Linked DNA regions of Homo sapiens: region 2 is linked to region 1. The links are contacts of gene promoters, found by promoter capture Hi-C in blood cells and fetal thymus (Javierre and others, 2016). All regions are on one chromosome and are shown on one strand. Each heading gives the region's core, a stretch centred on a gene start or on the middle of the fragment in contact. The rest is flanking DNA. Distances are from core to core; before and after follow the strand shown. Region 1 holds the start of PLPBP (pyridoxal phosphate binding protein). Region 2 has its middle 11 kb from the start of TACC1.

The links. Contacts are between HindIII fragments. The CHiCAGO score rates a contact against its expected background, and 5 or more counts as called.
Region 2: a contact is called between a fragment that was not itself captured here and the fragment with the promoter of PLPBP in region 1, in 1 of 17 cell types (activated CD4 T cells). The highest score is 5.3, in activated CD4 T cells.

What each region holds. Positions count from the first base shown.
Region 1 is chr8:37,759,119-37,764,763 of GRCh38, reverse strand. PLPBP (pyridoxal phosphate binding protein) reads right to left here and starts at 2,119. Exons shown (of 8, transcript NM_007198.4): 1 at 2,006-2,119. The coding sequence starts at 2,104. It overlaps LOC124901934 (a long non-coding RNA gene), which reads left to right and starts at 1,500. Exons shown (of 2, transcript XR_007060889.1): 1 at 1,500-1,837; 2 at 1,951-5,645. RefSeq lists enhancers at 1,691-1,750, 2,059-2,353, 1,931-2,390, 2,491-2,570 and a silencer at 2,111-2,431. The HindIII fragment of the contact is 3,991 bases long and covers 1-2,736 here.
Region 2 is chr8:38,773,161-38,778,805 of GRCh38, reverse strand. It overlaps a transcript of TACC1 not described here. Among named protein-coding and RNA genes, the nearest start is that of TACC1, 11 kb to the left of the region's middle. The HindIII fragment of the contact is 2,473 bases long and covers 1,942-4,414 here.

The DNA of each region.
Region 1 (5,645 bases), core at 870-3,369:
AACCCAAACGTTAGCAGTTTGGCGACTCATTCTAGTCCTGGTGTATCATTACACCATAATAACACTGCCCCATTTACTCTAAAAGTGGCCCACTTAGGTAACTAAGTAATTGATTGTTCAATCTGTGAATTAAGAACCAGTGGCATGGCCAGGTGAGCCACACGCCTGTAATCCCTGCACTGTGGGAGGCCGAGGTGGGTGGATCACCTGAAGTTACGAGTTCGAGACCAGCCTGGCCAAAAGGTGAAACCCCATCTCTATTAAAATACTAAAACTTAGCCAGGTGTGGTGGTGGGCATCTGTAATCCGAGCTACTTGGGAAGCTAAGGCAGGAGAATTGCTTGAATCCGGGAGGTGGAGGTTGCAGTGAGCTGAGGCTGTGCCATTGCACTCCAGCCTGGGTGACAGAGTGAGACTCCGTCTCAAAATAAAACAAAAAACAACAGTCTGGCCAACATAATGAAACCCTGTCTCTACTAAAAATACACAAAAAATTAGCCAGGTGTGGTGGTGTGTGCCTGTAATCCCAGCTACTCAGGAGGCTGAGGCAGGAGAATTGCGTGAACCCGGGAGGTGGAGGTTGCGGTGAGCCAAGATCGTGCCACTGCACTCCAGCCTGGGCGACAGAACGAGACTCTGTCTCAAACAAAACAAAACAAAACAAAACAACACAACAAAAAAAAAAAAAAAAAGAAAGAAAAGAACCAGTGGCAGAACTAAGGCTGCGACACAAAAAATTCTGGATTCAGGATCAGACCTATGTGACATCCTCTCACGACCACTATACAAAGAGCGGGGGTTCTATGCGTTCTGCTGCCACCCAATCCACATAGAAACAGTAAGAGAAGAGATTCGTTTATCCTTGCACGATTTAGTCTTCTTGTATCCATCATCCCCTGAAGTTTTCACAGAATCACAGTGTTCTCAAGGACGTGACGGAGTCAGATCAATTAGAAAAATGTCTCCTCTTCCTTCCTTCCACAGCGATGCGTAACCAGCCTCGTTTGAGTCCAAGTCGTGACTACTGGGAGTATGCTGATGATTGACGCTTTCCAGAGAGTTACCCGAACAGGCAGCCCATCTGCCTGAGAGTTTCCCTGAGAGAACCTCCAAGGTGATGTTTATTAGGGGAAGCCCTAGATTTTTCTTGGAGAATCACCGAGAATCACAGAATATTAACATCAGAAGAGATCTCAGAGCTTTCAGAGCTGAGGGCCGGAATAGTTACCTGACTTGTTCAAGGTAACGTCTAAGGAATAGTCAAAGAAAGACTATAATACAGGTCTTGTCTTCAGCCAGCATAAATGCTCGATCAGAGAAACCTGTGACCTCTCTGTTAAGGTCCGTCTCATTCCACACCATTCAGCTTAAACTTGCACTGAGGTGGGCAGATTTTGATTCTTGGTCTAATCAAAGTCCAAGAGGATGTAATATATATATACACAAAAGACGAAAGCTCCCCTTAACCGGCTTGGGATTGGACTTCTCCCTCCTGCCCCATAAACAAGTGCCGCTCTGATGCCAGCGAAGTCCGGCCAGTCCACCCTCACCTCGGCCTCCGGGCGGCACTGGCATTTCTTGGGCACTTAGCAGGTGAGACGCTGCCACACACGCGATCTCGGGCGTCTCTGGCCTCCGCGGGGTGCTCTTGTACCCCCGTCTCCCCTTACCATCCGTGGGCACAGGCCTGGCCCCCCTCGCATCCGCCAAGGCTATCGACCCCGAAACGACGCGGTGCGCAAGTGGCCACGACACCTAGGCACTAAGTCATTTTCCCGAGGTAGCGGTACCCTCTGCTCCAACGAAGCCAATCTCCAGAAAACCTAACAGACTCAAGGTAAGGAGGCTGGGGAAACCCTTCGCTAGCCTTTCGGTGGCCCTAGGCGGCCGACCAGTCCCGCCTCTCTGGGAGACCCCTCTGCGTCACCGTGACGACCCATTCCCACGCAGGTGTCCCTCTTCTCAAGGCGGCCGCCCACCGTCCCCACGCAGCCTCCTTCCTCACCCGCGGCCGCCGCGCCACAGCCTGCTGCACGCGCTCGTTCACCGCCCGCAATGCGCACCCGACTCCCAGCTCGGCCGACATGCTGCCAGCTCTCCACATCCCCCGGGGACCGACGCCGAGCCCCAGGCCCCCGGCAGCCCGTGGCTCACACCATCTTCCGGTTCCGCCCAGCTTGCGCCGTGTGAACCAATCATTGCTCATCATTGAGTCGTCTCACCCAATCAACACCCGTGCAGCGTGGAGGCCCGCCCCCAGGCGGCGGCCATCTTGGGGAGGTCACCCGCGAACCTGGAAATGGAGCCTAGGGGCTGAGGTTTTGCGCGCCTGGTTCCAAGGGCCACTCCCCGTGTGCTCTCCTCTTTCCTGCGCCTCAGCCGCTGCCGTCCCCCCACCCCCAAGGGACTTTTGTGAGGCAGAAACGCATCCTATACTCGGGGGATCCTGTTTCCTTTCAAAACGCCTTTCCAGGCTTGCCCGTTCCCGGCTTTCTGGGCGCGGGGACCAGAATTAGAAGCCACTGGGGCGGGAGCCAGGGCTTTTCTCTGTCAGATGGTTCTTGCGAGGAACCCCTAAGCGATACGAAAGGAAACTCTTCTTTCTTCTTTTCCCTAAAGACATGGCGTGATTCAAACGTATCGTGATTTTTGTCATCTTTCAGACCACTGCTGTCCAAGAGAAATATAACGCCATCCAACTGTGTAATTTGGAAGTTTCTCATAGGCACATAAGCTTAAAAATTTTAATGATATACTTTATTTAATCCAATATATCCAAAGTAAGATTTCAACATGCAATCAATAGAAAAACTAAATGCGATATTTTAATTCTTTTGAAAATCGTATGTGTTTCTGAAACCCGGTGTAGTGTTGACTTGCATATGTCTCAATTCGGGCCATCCCTATTTCGAGAGGTTAGCGGCCACCTGCGGCCAGTGCTGTCTCATCAGGGGACACAGGCAGCATGATTATTACTATTATTATTATTGAGACAGTCTCGCTCTGTCACCCAGGCTGGAGTGCGGTGGCCCGATCTGGGCTCACTGCAACCTCCACCTCCCGGGTTCAAGCGATTCTCCTGCCTCAGCCTCCCCAGTAGCTGGGACTACAGGTGCGAGCCACCGCGCCCAGCCCACAGGCAGCTTTAGATGGTCTAGCAGGAGCTCAGCACATTCAGTTAGATTCTTTTTTTGAGATGGGGTCTCGCTATGTTGCCCAGATTATCTGGGACTCGTGGGCCCAAGCAATCCTCCCACCTCCGCCTCACAGAATAGCTGGGACTACAAACGGGCACCACAACGCCCTGAGTTTGATTCTTGAGTCCCCTTCTGTGGGCAATATGGTTATAAACTTGATGAGGAGCCAGGCCATACAAATAATAATACAGAATGCTACATAGTCAGGTGGTGAAATAGTAGGTGCTACGGGCAAGGAGAAGGAGATCAATTTTGTTAAGGAAAGCACTCTTGGCTGCAATTTCTGTTGAAAGTTTCTCAAACATTAATTCAACTTAATGAAGTGGGATGCTATTATATTAGAGAAATGGCTAATGTTTGTTCTTCAGGTGGTCTTGTCTTGAGGTGATGGGGTTTATTAGAGCTTTCCGGAAAGAAGGGGCAATATTCTTACTCTCTCCTCTCACAGTTTTTCCCCAGACTCCCAGGAACAGAGATGGAATTTCACATCTTCTGCTCTGGGAAAGTCACATTAGGCAGAACCTCAGATCCTTAAAATAAGGGACTTCTTTTTGGGAAGTCTCTGGTCATTTACCCTGGTACACATTAACTGGGTTATCTGCAAACTAGGACTGCCAACATTAGGAGTAATTGTGTTCAGATAAAATGTCTCTAGACTTGATACATCTGTACTCCAACCAAAATGATAAAAAAATTTAAAATGACCAGAATGGCCCTTTGTGGTGTGAGCATAATAGATGCTTGCTGTAGAGACACAGGTGGGAAGGAGCGAGCCAGCAGTGAGTGATGGGGAGGACAGAGGGGATCATGGTGATGGGATGTGTAGAGGAAGGATTGGGTGAGATGAAACACTTCAAATAATGTGCTATTTGGAAAACATTTTAAAACCATAAATACCTCACAGATCTAGGGAATGTATAATCCAGGTGTTACGTCACTATGACAACAAGTAGTTGTAGCTTCATTTACTAGATTGGGCCTCTATTCTTTTTTGTGTTTTTTGAGACGAAGTCTTGCTCTGTCACTCAAGCTGGAGTGCAGTGACGCGATCTCGGCTCACTGCAACCTCTGCCTCCTGGGTGCAAGTGATTCTCCTGCCTGAGCCTCCCGAGTAGCTGGGACTACAGGCGTGCATCACCACGCCCGCCTAATTTTTGTATTTTTAGTACAGATGGGGTTTCACTATGTTAGCCAGGTTGGTCTCGAACTCCTGACCTTGTGATCCACCCGCCTCGGCCTCCCAAAGTGCTGGGATTACAGTCGTGGGCCACCGTGCCCAGCCAGGGACCTCTATTCTTTGAACTACAAGGCAAGGTCATCCTCCCACCCCCTTATCCATTCAGTGAACATTTACTGAGGCGTTACTCTGTAAAGAACCCTGAGAGAGACCAGGCTGAGTAAGACAGGCTTTACTGCCGATTTACTTCCAATATGCTCGCTTTTCATCTCTGACATTCTGTGGTCTTATGAAAATGGAAATGGAGACAAAAAGATCATGGTGCCCCCAGTCCCATGGTCATTTCACATTCCAATTTCTTCTTAGTTGTACTTTTGAATTAATTTTATTTCACTTTGTCCCTTTTTTTCCTTATTTGCTTTTTTAATTTCTTCTCTTCCTCTTCCTGGGACATCAACCATCCAATTTAACCTTTCATCCTCCCCTACTACCTAATCCTTGAAAAATACAAGTCCAAAATCATTTCATCACCAGTAATTGTCTTTAAATTGCTCCAATAATTTGCAAGGACCAAGGGGAAAAGAGAAAGATTAAAAAGCCAAATGCCCAGAGAAACAGATTTTATAAATAATCTAAAATCTAGTATACTTATTCACCATCAATGCCATCAAGCTTTTAAAACACCCTCATAGTCTGGAATAAATCCAAATTATGAGAAAAACATATATGGATTTAAAAATTGTTTCCTTCTGAGCCTACTGTGAGTCTTTTAGGGGGATAAAAAAGTAAAAAGTAAAATAGAAAATTACTGTTGCCTGGTTACTTAGCTCTAAAGAGAAACGGAGAAATAATGCCCATGTCCCATCCCAGTTTAAATGAATTCAGGTAGAGTAGCCCATGACAGCAAGCCCTTGGCACACATGCCATCACATCTGGCCTTTGAAATGTCTATAGAGATAGTAGAACCCTAGACCTAGGGAAGACTTAGGGAGGTTTCATACAGAAAGAATGACATTTAAACCATCCCAAACAGCACAGAGTCTTCACAATTTCTGAAGACCATCAGAGAAGAATATTTATTTTCTATTTGCAAGTAACTACTCCTCCCCATTTGAAAATTTAGCAAGCCTGATCTTAAGTAAATTCTTTACAAATCCTCCTTTATTCAAGTGAATTTCCTCTTTTTAGCTACCAGTATGTAACTTTTATAATCGTGAAGTCATTAAATGTCCCTTCTGCCTTTTCTGGCATCAACCTATGAGCTTTATTTC
Region 2 (5,645 bases), core at 1,929-4,428, 1.0 Mb before region 1:
AAACTATGTTGATGAGGGAAATGACACCCAGGAGCCTCTCCCCATCTGGGAAAAAGTAGCAAGGCTCAGCAAAGAAAGGAGGCATCAAACAGGTTGCCAAGGCCTGATTTTGTGAAGCAGGAAGCCTAAAAACTGGGGAAGCACTCTTTAAGAAAAATGCTAAAGGACCCCATGAACACAGTGCTAGGGCCACACTAGTATGAAGGGGCCCATGCAAGGGAGGGGACTGAAGCTTAGGCTTCCTCAGCTTCATAGTAAATTCAGCTCTGCCCAGAGAACAAAAGAGATTCCTGCCTGTGGCTCAGGAGTGGTTCAGCTGGCCTCAACTCAGTAAGTGAAATGTCCATTTATGGAGCGAGGGGGTCACACTGACCTCTGTCTTCTTAGAGGAAACAAAAATATTTAACTGTTGGAAACTGGATAAAACTGTCAAAAGATATCTCCTACACAGATTGTGAAACATAATTCATGGCTCTGTTCCTTCTGTACCCATTGTAAACACACACATACACACACACACACACACACACAATTTTAATTATTAAGATAAAAAAGCAAAAGGCCAGGTGTGGTGGCTCATGATTGTAATCCCAACACTTTGGGAGACGAAGGCAGGAGGATCGCTTGAGCCCAGGAGTTTGAGACCAGCCTGGACCACACAGTGAGAGCCCATCTCTACACACATGCACACACACAAAGATAAAAAAGAAAAACTATAATGCTTCTTTAACATTGTGTGTCTATGCACCTCTACTCTTTGAATTTCCACAAGATCACCATGGTAGAGCCTAATTCCCTCACCCCACATCCTGTATCCATCTGTATCCATCATTTCCTTATTTCTTCTAGCAAAAGAACCCTCTGAATTTTTGCTGAGCACATGGTCACACAGCAAGAGGCCACGTTTCCTTCTCTACAACTAGGTGTGGCCTGTGACTCAGTTCTCACCCATGGGATGTGAGCACAAGGGGTAAGTGCAAATTTGGGGCAGTGTCTTTTTTTTCTCTTTTAGAGACAGAGTTTTGCTCTATTGTCCAGGCTGAAATGCAGTAGTGTAATCATATCTCACTATAGCCTCGAGCTCCTGGGCTCTAGCAATCCTCCCACCTCAGCCTCTTGAGTAGCTGGAAATCCAGGTGCACACCACCATGTCCAGCTAATGTTTTTTGTTTTGTTTTGTTTTGTTTGTAGAAACAGGGTCTTGCTGTGTTGCCCAGGCTGGTCTCAAATTCCTGGACTCAAGCAATTCTCACCCCTTGGCCTACAGAAGCAGTGGGATTATAGACATGAGCTATTGTGCCTGGCCCCTGGGCCAATGTCTTTAAAAAGAAAACTGCATGTCCAGCCTCTCCCGGCCGAAAAGTTGTGAACTGCGTGTCACAACTTCTGCTGTGTGAGGACCACACTCTGGACAGGATAGAGCCACAGAACAGACAGAACCCGCACCAGGCTGACTGGGGAGCAGAGCAGCCTGCGGCCCTAGACTAATTGCTGCCTGAGGACTGTTCCATGAGAGAGAAAAGTCTATCTTCTCTTTTTTTTTTTTTTTTGAGATGGAGTCTCACTCTGTTGCCCAGGCTGAAGTGCAGTGGCGTGATCTCGGCTCACTGCAACCTCTGCCTCCCGGGTTCAAGCAATTCTCCTGTCTCAGCCTCCAGAGTGGCTGGGATTACAGGCTCGTGCCACCACACCCAGCTGATTTTTGTATTTTTAGTAGACATGGGGTTTCACCATGTTGGCCAGGCTGGTATCGAACTCCTGACCTCAGGTGGTCCGCCTGCCTCAGCCTCCCAAAGTGCTGGAATTACAGGCGTGAGCCACCGTGCCCAGCCTAAAAGTCTATCTTCTTTATCAGACTGTGTCACTGGGCCCCTTTGTAACAGCAGCCTCATCTCCACCCTCACATTACAACCTCCTCTGGGGGATTTCAGCATCTAAGCTTCCTTAGATGAAGGTATGGGAAGAACCTGCCTTAAATTTCGTTCTACATTCTTCTGAACAGGATTACATGAAAGTTCCTTCAAAGATGGAAGCATTTTTAAAAATGATAAATCTACACAGGTTGAGCATCCCTAATCCAACAATCTAAAATCCAAAACGTTTTGCTTGTCAACATGACACCACAGTGGAAAATTCCACACCTAATTTCATGTGGCCAGTCACAGTCAAAACACAGTCAAAACTTTGTTTCATGCACAAAATTATTACAACTGCTGTTTAAAATTACCTTCAGGCTATGTGTAGAAGGTGTATATGAAACATAATGAATCTCATGTTTAGACTTGGGTCCCATCCCCAAGCTATCTCATTATGTATATGCAAATATTCCAAAATCTAAAATCTGAAACACTTCTGGTCCTAAGCATTTTGGATAAGGAACACTCTACCTGTATCTCAATGATGTCTTTTCTCAGGGCAGAAAATTCCCGAACCAAAAGACTCAAGCCTGCCCCGTGGATGATGTCCTAATTATCCTAAAAACAGGACTGAGACTACCCTTCCTTCTGCCGTAATGACTTGAGCTGTGATACTGACTTTCTAGAAATTAGGCAGTTGCATTTTTAAAGATGACTGATGTGGACAAAAACGTTGAAGAAGGAGGGAGTCAATATTTAGATTTCACAAAGGCCAAGTAGAATGGATTTACATATTGATGAAGGTTATTATTTTCTTTGGGGAGATTTCCTTGAAATAATATGATTGTATAACTCCAATATTTGCCCAATTCTAAGGATAAATAATAACAATAATAAATAATAACTGACCCAAATCCTATAAGTGAATTAATCATTGTTCTTTGGCTTCAACACTAACTGGTGCTAGTGACGATTTCTAGCACACACACAAAATATTTTTAGAAATTGTTTTCTTATGGGCTCAATTAGTCAAGTTATTTTGTTGTATTATTTTATAGAACTATGACAAGCAAGAGCGAGTTTATCCTTACCGGTCTTCCCTGTACCTCATCATGTATGATATAGGAATATCTTATGTGTTTTCTGTTTCCTTTGGCCAAGGCATAGACACTGAGCAGAATATATTTGTTTTACATTATTTTCTGAACAAATGATAAATCACTGCTACAGACTGACTGTTTATATCCCCCCAAAATTCATAGGTTAAAACCTAAACTCCAATGTGAGAATATTAAGAAGTGGGGCCTTTGGGAGGTGATTAGGTCATGAGGGTTCTTCCTGGGGTCAGCGCCCTTATAAAAGAGACCCCAGACAGCTCCCTCTCCCTTCTTCTGCCAAATGAGGACACAGGGAGAAGACATCCAGGAGGTCAGCCTTCACCAGATGTGGAATCTGCTGGTCCCTTAATCATGGGGACCTCCATCCTCCAGAACTTCCAGAAATAAATGACTGGTTTATAAACCACCCAGGCAATTATATCCTTATAGTAGCCTTAACAGACTAAGATAATCACTGACTCCTAACCTAAGCATCCATCTCAGATCTCATAGAACCACAGAAATTTTTAGCTGGAAAGGACCTTTGCCAAAGATCACTGGGTCGAATATCATTCTTTTTGGAAGAAGGTTTACTCAGGCACCAAAGTGCACAACTAGGATTCATAACCCTTGCAAGGAAGGTATGAAGGTATGAATTCTGGAGTTTCCCCCCAGCCCCAAAAGATATGCCCACTTGGTATGTATAATAGAGATATGACTTCTCCCCAAAATTCACCTCATTTTAAAAGGCACTGTAAATTGTTTTATAAAGCAAATACATACAAATAGTCTTGTACTTTGTTTTAAAAGTTTTTGGTTTTCATTTTTTTTTTTTTTTTTTTGAGACGGAGTCTCACCGTGTCACCCAGGCTGGAGTGCAGTGGTGCGATCTTCGCTCACTGCAACCTCTGCCTCTGGGGTTCAAGCGATTCTCCTGCTTCAGCCTCCCGAGTAGCTGGGATTACATGCATGTGCCACCATGCCCAGCTAATTTTTGTATTTTTAGTAGAGAGGGGGTTTCACCATGTTGGACAGGCTGGTCTCGAACTCCTGACCTCGTGATCCGCCCGCCTCGGCCTCCCAAAGTGCTGGGATTACAGGCGTGAGCCACCGTGGCTGGCCTTTAAAAATATTTTTATAGCCTAGGCAACATAGTGAGACCCCATCCCTTCAAAAACAAAAACAAAAAAAAATTAGCCTGGTGTGGCAATGCACACCTGTAGTCCTAGCTACTTGGGAGGCCAAGATGGGAGGATCATTTGAGCCCAGGAATTCAAGGTTGCAGTGAGCTGTGATGCTACCACTGCACTTCAGCCTGGGCTATAGAGTGAGACTCTGTCTCAAAACAATAATAAAAAATGTATTTTTAAATACCTTTAGTGTTTAAGGCAAAATAATACATATGTTCATTCATTCATTCATTCATTCATTCATTCCACAAATTTGACAAATGACCAAGCTTTGCCAGCCTCTGCTGAACACTGTGTTGAACAAAAGAGACCCAGTTCCTGCCCTCATAGAACTTGCATATTAGTGAGCTTAGTAAGCCAACAAATAAATATGTAATATATAAATTGTCATGTATGAAATATAAGAACTGCAGGGGGCTCTGAGAATGGCTGGTGGACGGCATCGGTGGAGATGTCAAGGGAGGTTGCTCTGAAGGAGTGACAGACTGAAGCCTCAGGGATAGGCAGAAGCTGCCTGGGTGAAGTGTAGGGTAACAGCGTTCCTTCATCAAGACACTAAGGACAGAAGCAGCCTCCAGTTTTGAGTAAGCGTGGTTGAAGAGCAGCTGCTGGAGGGAGGAGAGGGGCTTAGGCTGGTGAAGTGGGAGAGGCACAAGGCATGACAGCCTAGAAGACCATGTTAAGCATCCTTGTCTCTGAAAAAGTGAATTTTTGACTACATAGGCAGTTCAAAGAAGAAAGAAAAACCTGCCCATAGTATTGTCTTTCATAAATAGCCACTGTTAAAATGTTGGTGAGCTAGATATACCCTTTTTTCCCTCTTTTTCAAAGTACTTTTTACATCTGGAATTGAAATATTTATGTTTTTCTATTAATATTTATAATCTGTCTTTCCCTACTAGACATAAGCTCCATGAACACAGAGTACCTTACCTATCTTGTTTCTTCTGCTCAATATTTGATGACTGAATAAAGATTGCAAATCTCTCTCTTACATATACACAAGCATGTACTTATTTGGACAAATGGAACAACAGATAGATAGCTAGATAGATAGCTAGATAGATAGATAGCTAGATAGATAGCTAGCTAGATAGATAGATACTTTTACACAAATAGTGAATAAGTACTTTTGGCAAAAGACAATATGTATGTTTAAATATTTATTGATTTTATTAATATTTACCAGTGTAAATATTAATGTTTATATTATATTAGTATTTATTTAATATAAATATTAATATTTAAATATAAAAATTTATATTATATTAATATTTTAATTTATTTGATATGCATATTAATATTTATGTCAATATTTAAAATAATGAATTTTTTTTTGAGACGGAGTTTTACTCTTTCATTCAGGCTAGAGTGCAGTGGCATGATCTCGGCTCGCCACAACTCCACTTTCCAATTTCAAGCAATTCTCCTGCCTCAGCTTCCTGAGTAGCTAGAATTACGGGTGCCCGCCACCACGCCAGGCTAATTTTTGTATAATTAAT